2 separate regions of the Homo sapiens genome follow, and region 2 is linked to region 1. The links are contacts of gene promoters, found by promoter capture Hi-C in blood cells and fetal thymus (Javierre and others, 2016). All regions are on one chromosome and are shown on one strand. Each heading gives the region's core, a stretch centred on a gene start or on the middle of the fragment in contact. The rest is flanking DNA. Distances are from core to core; before and after follow the strand shown. Region 1 holds the start of R3HCC1L (R3H domain and coiled-coil containing 1 like). Region 2 holds the start of CCDC6 (coiled-coil domain containing 6).

Evidence for each region. Contacts are between HindIII fragments. The CHiCAGO score rates a contact against its expected background, and 5 or more counts as called.
Region 2: a contact is called between the fragment with the promoter of CCDC6 here and the fragment with the promoter of R3HCC1L in region 1, in 1 of 17 cell types (total CD8 T cells). The highest score is 5.2, in total CD8 T cells.

Annotation. Positions count from the first base shown.
Region 1 is chr10:98,132,845-98,136,300 of GRCh38, reverse strand. R3HCC1L (R3H domain and coiled-coil containing 1 like) reads right to left here and starts at 1,644. Exons shown (of 10, transcript NM_001351015.2): 1 at 1,595-1,644. RefSeq lists enhancers at 946-1,085, 428-1,217. The HindIII fragment of the contact is 1,235 bases long and covers 830-2,064 here.
Region 2 is chr10:59,904,882-59,908,269 of GRCh38, reverse strand. It overlaps CCDC6 (coiled-coil domain containing 6), which reads left to right and starts at 1,714. Exons shown (of 9, transcript NM_005436.5): 1 at 1,714-2,148. The coding sequence starts at 1,846. RefSeq lists enhancers at 1-79, 2,772-3,001 and silencers at 1,125-1,419, 1,602-1,941, 1,972-2,251. The HindIII fragment of the contact is 3,234 bases long and covers 1-3,007 here.

The DNA.
Region 1 (3,456 bases), core at 395-2,894:
CTAAGCTAATGCAACTTACTGTCATCCTCTCTTGTTTTTTGGACCATTTTCAAGTATTCTTCAATCAATAAATTCAGAATAAACACAGACTAAAAATACCTAACTACACTTTCTTACCCCTTTAAAAATTAATCGCAGAGGTCGGGCACAGTGGGCACAGTGTCAAACGCCTGTAATACCAACACTTTGGGAGGTCGAGGCGGGAGGATCATTTGAGCCCAGGAGTTAGACCAATCTGGGCGACATAGTGAAATCCTGATTCTACCCAAAAAAAAAAAAAAAACTGATTGCAGAATTAGCATTCTCTGTAAGGGGAAAAATAAGACAATAAGCAACTTGCTTAGTCTCAAAGCTTAATGTCAAAAAAAATTAAACAGATGGGATATTTGGCTATTTATATTCTGAATTTCAACTGTGACACAAGACACAAGACCTGCTGGGGACAGGTATTAGTTGTAGTACAACCATATCTGAGGAACGTTTACTGCTTTATGCTTGTACCTGTGTGATACTGAAGGAAGGTTATAACAGCAAGAGATAGTTGTGTGTGCTGAGGAAGAAGAGTCTAAATTCTGGTGGGCCTTAAAATCCAGATGAAGTTTTAAATTGACTCCACAGGTGGTAACGCCCTAAGGTCACCTCTTCACTAGGAACCTGGCATAAAAACATCTGTATGGTTCAGATTCGTTTCCAAAGACACTTTCCCCCTATTTATTAACTAATTTGATCTTCGTATAGACATGAACCTGGTTTTAAAACTCAACTGACCTAGACTGGAGACTGGGGGATGGCAAGGTTATACCCGAAACATACTTTAGAGTTCAAAGCTTTCGCAGGAATATCACTTCTGCTGAAGCCCACAACCCTGGAAGGCCGCAGGGCAAAGAACATTAACCCCACTTTTCAGACAACGAAACCGAGGCTGCGCTAAACAGACTACTGTACAAAAGATCACAGGTCCAGCCAAGTGGCGGACTGAGACTTCCCCCAGGATATCAGACTCCAAATCCTGTGCTCCTTCCCGTACACAACTGAGAGGGGGCTGCACTCACAAACTTTAAAGATCGGACTTGGGGTTTTTCGCAGGCCTGCCAAGAAAAAGCAGGAAGTACATGCTCCTTTATAGATTGCTCACTCCCAGCCCGTAGCCCGGGGCTCCCGGGCAGCGGAGGAGGCTCAAAGGCGAGGCTCGAAGCGAAGCCCGGAAACCGCCGGCAGCCCTGGGGGCCCACGGCCCCGCAGCCCCGAGGGGGTAACCAGGGACCCCGCTCAATACCTGTTGAAACCCAGAAAAAGCACGTCCTTTCCGCCAGGATCATTTGGGGCGAGCGCCCAAAGCGAGCACGAGCCCCAGTGAGTGCAAAAGAGCCCCGGGAGGGTCCCTCTCAACCGCGGGCCCGCAGGGGTCAGAAGGCGGGAGCTTCCCAGTAACCTCCGCCCCAGGCAGGGGGCGGCCCCTCGCGTCACATGAGGAAAAAAAATACCAGCAACAAACGACGGAATGGAAGTCTTGTCCCGGGCTGTGAAGGGAGAAGTGGGGATTAAAAATCCTAGCTTGAGGTACAGAGGGAGGGGATACGGGGCTGGTTGTTACCGGCGCGCTGTTGCTCTCCGCTTCCGCCGTCTCCGCGAAGCTCTATCTCTTCCGCTCGCGCCGCTGGGGCGCGCGTCAGGCCTCGGCTCCGCCCCCAACGCCGTGGGGCCTTCTGGGGGTTGTAGTTTCCGCGAGGCCCGGCCGCGCCCACTGAGTTCAGGTCACGTAGGGGAGAAGCTGGCAAAATGGCGAGTGCCGGAGAGCATTTCTGCTCCTGTCCCTTCAACCCTTCCTCATTCCTCTCGGCTATATACGTGCGCAAATCTCCTTACATTCCACTCAATTATACCATCTCACTTCCTCCGTTCACAGCCAAGTTTTTTGAAAAAGATAATCTACACTGTCTCTACTTGCTCATCTGTGTTCACTCCTCATCGCAGCTTCCGCCCCCATGGAAAATGCCTTGTTGTCATAAGTGTCCTTGTTGCCAAACTCATTGGAGGTATTTCCGGACTCATCTAACTCAAGCTTTAGTCATTTGACGCTATTGGGCATTATCACTTATTTTCTATGACACTATCCAGGTTTTCCTTCTCTGAATTCATTCTACTTTGTTTCCTCTAACTTACCTCTAAAATATTGGTGTTTTCCAGAGTTCTTAAAATTGGGGTGGGAGAGGGGACACTCCAGTCCCTTCTCACCTGAGCTCATTGTTTGTATTCCCAACTTCCTAGACAAGACCTCTCCTCATCCATGCCCACAGGCATCTCCAGTGTCCTTGAAAAGTGAACTACTGGGGCCAGGAACAGTGGCTCATGCCTGTAATCCCAGCACTTTGGGAGGCCAAGGCAGGTGGATCACCTGCGGTCAGGAGTTCGAGACCAGCCTGACCAACATGGTGAAACCCTGTCTCTACTAAAAGTACAGAAATTAGCTGTGCGTGGTGGTGGGCACCTGTAATCCCAGCTACCCAGGAGGCCGAGGCAGGAGAATTGCTTGAAGGAGAATCGCTTGAACCCGGGAGGCGGAGGTTGCAGTAAGCCAAAATTGCACCACTGCACTCCAGCCTGGGCAACACAGGGAGACTCCGTCCCCCAAAAAAAGAAAAGTAAACTACTACCCCTCCTCCCTACTCATTAATATTCACTCTTTAACCTGATTCCTCCTTTCTCACTTCCTCTTCCTCCAATATTCAAATGGTCACCAAATCTTGGAGATTCTATTGTAGCAGGACGAGCCGCAGACAAAACCTCTCAGACACCAAGTTGTAGAACGAAGGGCTTTATTCAGCTGGGAGCATCGGCAAGCTACTGTCCTAAAATCCAAGCTCCCCGAGTGCACAATTTCTGTCCCTTTTAAGGGCTCACCACACTAAAGATTTCACATGAAAGGGTCGTGATTGATTGAGCAATCTGGGGTGTATGTGACAGGGGCTTCATGCAGTGGTAGTCAGAGTGAAACAGAACAGAGTACAATGTTCTTCCATACAATGCCTGGAATCTATGCTAAGTCATGAGTTGATTTTTAACTACTAGGTTTAGGCCAGGCAGGCCCAGGCCTGGTTTCAGGTCTGGTTTTGGGTCTGGTGCCTGGTGCTGGGCTGCCTGCCTTTGGTTTCACTTCCTTGTTTTTTTTCTTAAAACAGGTACTGAGTATAAAACAATATAAAACAATATGAGAGGGTCTCTTTCTTCTCTCACTATCTCCCAAGTACTCCTTGAATCTGTTCCTTCTTCAGGACTCCTAACTCATGACTCAGCTGCTCCTGTGGCCCCACCCAGAGGTGGACTCAGAGCATGAGGACTGTTTTCCACACCCCTATGATTTCATTCCCAACCCATCAGCAGCACCCATTCCCTAGCCCCCTGCCCACCAAAATGTCCATAAAAACCCTAACCTCTGAACCTTCAGGGAGTTTGATT
Region 2 (3,388 bases), core at 465-2,964, about 38 Mb after region 1:
AAAGTGAGAGAACTAAGTTTCAGTGCAAATTAAACTGGATCACTTGTAACAGAATGATTTAGATTGCCTATATGTTTCTCAAGAGCAAAGCCAAGCATTTCCTCCCTCCTGCTATACAAACAGTGACAGAGTTCAGAAGCCCTCCAGCACTAAGCTAAAAAATACCTGGGAGAAACTGGGGTTTAGTTGCTGTTGGCATTTAAGCTGTTTGCTAAAAGCAGCCATCTTGGTGAAAGATGATGTCATTTGGAACACTTGGTGTTTTCGAGTTTATTCTGAGGTGCCAGTTTCCAAGAGCCATTGAATCACCGTTTAATCATGAGATCAAATTTAGGTTTAAAGATAATGAGGGAGTGGGAATAAGAATCATTCTTCTTTCTTCCTAACACTTTAGAAATCTTTCAGAAAGTTCAACCCAACAGAAAAAAAAATTACACTTTTTTTTCTATTTTCTATTACCATGTGTTTGTTGTAATGTTAACTAAGCGTGGGTAATAAAACTAGTCTGGTCAGTTTCACTTTCCAATTTTTATACATAAGTGAAAGCTGTTTTGTGTCAACAGGGCAAAGTGTTTAGAATCATCTCACCTGCTGGGCCAATTTCCTGCAAGCCTTTCTTTGGGAAGAGGAAGGGGGAATAAAAGTTTTTGATTTTTAATTTCTTAAACTGCAAAGCTAGAACCATGAATTAGACCGCATTACAGTAATTACTGTTTTATTTTTACATGCTAAAGTTTTCTAGGAGTGAGCAAGAGGATAGCAAAGACGGGTGATGTTGCACTCCCACTCAATCATTACTATTTGTATAGCATAATGTTATGTCCGCAGTTACTTTGGAAAATTGGCACTTAAAGAGGTGTTTCAATCTTCTACTAAAAGTGTTTCGCCTTCCTTTTTTTTTTTCTTCATTAGGTAAATGTTACTGTCTTAATCCTACTACGAGACATGTGCTGGAAATGTTTGCAAAATGCAAAGAGAAAAAGAAAAAAACAGTTGCACCTTGTTTAAACAATTGAGCGCAGTGTGGTTTATGAGGTTATTAAAGGAGATGTGTGTCTCTCCTGCAAATTCTTACTTAACAAGGTTAACCTGTGGCTGCTGTTGTTTCATCCTCCTCGGCCTCTTGTAGAGGAACTTTGTTCTCTTAGGTTTATCCAAGCCTTCCTAGTCAAAAACACCTTGCTTTTGAGAATATAAAACTGCGTGTATGTGTGAAACAGATAGAGGGAGACACGCGCACACACAGTCGGCGGAAGATGGGGCCACAACACGGTAGAGGATGGGTGCCGGAGCCCGGCTGACCTTTCCACGTGTCCCCGGCACCTGCGAGGCTGGTGGGGCATCAGGTTTCCTTTTTCTCGGGGCGGGCGCGAGCCCGGAAGAGGCTGGGCGGCCGTGGGCTTAGATCAGGGGGCTCGGAGGCCCTCCCTTGGAACACGTGTGGCTGGCGAGCTGGTGGTGCGGGGGCAGTCCTTGGCTTTCCCGCACCCGCAGTGCCTGCGCGTTCCCAGCCCGCCCGTGGTCACCAGACGGCGGCGGGCGGGTCCCGGAGCTTTCAGCCAGCTTTGCTGGGCGGCCTAGGGAGCGCGCCCAGCCCGGCTGGAGCGAGCCCCAGTGCAATACTGCCCAAGCCCGGGCGGGGTCTCTGTTCTCTGGCAGAGGAGGTCCCTTGGCAGCGGGAAGCGCCCTCTCTTTCTCTCGCCGCCGCTCCGAGTCTGCGCCCTGGTGCCAGGCGCTCAGCTCGGCGCTCCCCTGTGCTCGCCCGGCGCCCACTCATTCGCAGCCCGGCCTTCGTCGCCGCCGCCTCCCTGCTGCTCCTCCTCCTTTCCCCAGCCCGCCGCGGCCATGGCGGACAGCGCCAGCGAGAGCGACACGGACGGGGCGGGGGGCAACAGCAGCAGCTCGGCCGCCATGCAGTCGTCCTGCTCGTCGACCTCGGGCGGCGGCGGTGGCGGCGGGGGAGGCGGCGGCGGTGGGAAGTCGGGGGGCATTGTCATCTCGCCGTTCCGCCTGGAGGAGCTCACCAACCGCCTGGCCTCGCTGCAGCAAGAGAACAAGGTGCTGAAGATAGAGCTGGAGACCTACAAACTGAAGTGCAAGGCACTGCAGGAGGAGAACCGCGACCTGCGCAAAGCCAGCGTGACCATCGTGAGTGCCCCCCGGGGACGCGCCGCAGCGCCGACCTCCGCCCGCCCCGGGAGGGGCTGCACCCGAATCCAGCCACCCCCCAAGTCTTCCCCAGATTCCCGGGGACCCTCTGAGAGCACACTCCCTGCGGGGACCTGCTGGCTTCCGGGAGGAGAGGGAGGTATCCCTTCGGGGCCACGCGGGTCTGTCCTCCTCGGGGGTCTGAGGACCCTTGCGCGGTGCGGGGGAAGGCTACTGTGGCAACCATTCATGGTCCCTTTTAGCCTCTGGAGAGGAGGCCCCTCCGGGGCTGGGCTGGAGGCTGGCGGCGTGGCTGGGGGGCGGGGTAGGACTTTTTTCAGCCCTAGCATGTTTGAGGGGTGCGTCCAGAATCTGGGGAACCCCAGTCCTGGAAGAGGGAGGAAGCTGGGATCTCTTACTGGGTCCTGGCTCGGAGTGTGGGGGTTCGCAGCTGGACTGGGCACTAAGCTGGCATCTGGACTGCGCTAGCTGGATCGCCCGGGGAGGGGGCGGGAGAGAGTGGCCGGGAATCCGGGAAGTGGAGTTTTCTGGCCGGGATCGAGAGGGAAGGGCGGGTACGGCGCTAATGCTCCCACCTCTGTTGGAAGCTCTTTGCTTTGGGTTGGGAGGGTGGACGGTTTACAGCGAGGAGAGTGCAGCATCCACGCCTGGACAGGGCTGGGGCCGAAACCAGGGGAAGGGTAGTGACTGTGACTCCCTGGCTGAGCCAGAGGTACGTGTGTTTGCTTCATTCGTGGAGTGGTTAGAAGTATCTTGCTTCTGAGTCTAGATACTGGAGAACAGGCCATCTGTTCTGTTTCTACCTGTCCCCTGGAGGCTGCCCAGAAACGGGTAAGCTTGGGTCTGTAGGTCTCTCTCCTGGTGTGGCAGGCGTTTAGAAAGGCCCCTATAGCAGTGATGAGGCGAAACGTAACTAGAAAAAGTACACTGTGTACTCTCACCTATCATCCCTGCCAGCTCACCACATCATTAACATGAAGGATCCCCACACAGACAACTGTATTCAAATCAAAAGTTCCCCAGCCAGAAGCAGAGAAGATGATGTCAAGAAATCAAGGGGGATAAATGGCCATAGCTGCTGCAAAATAGCGGATTAGGCTGAACTTTGAAATGAAGAAAAAGGGATGAATTTGGGGATAGAGGGTCACACCTTGGAAATGGAGCAAGTTTAGGATGCCCCTTGTGCCAGGAAATGCCTTCGGTGGAGGAGGCTGTGTAT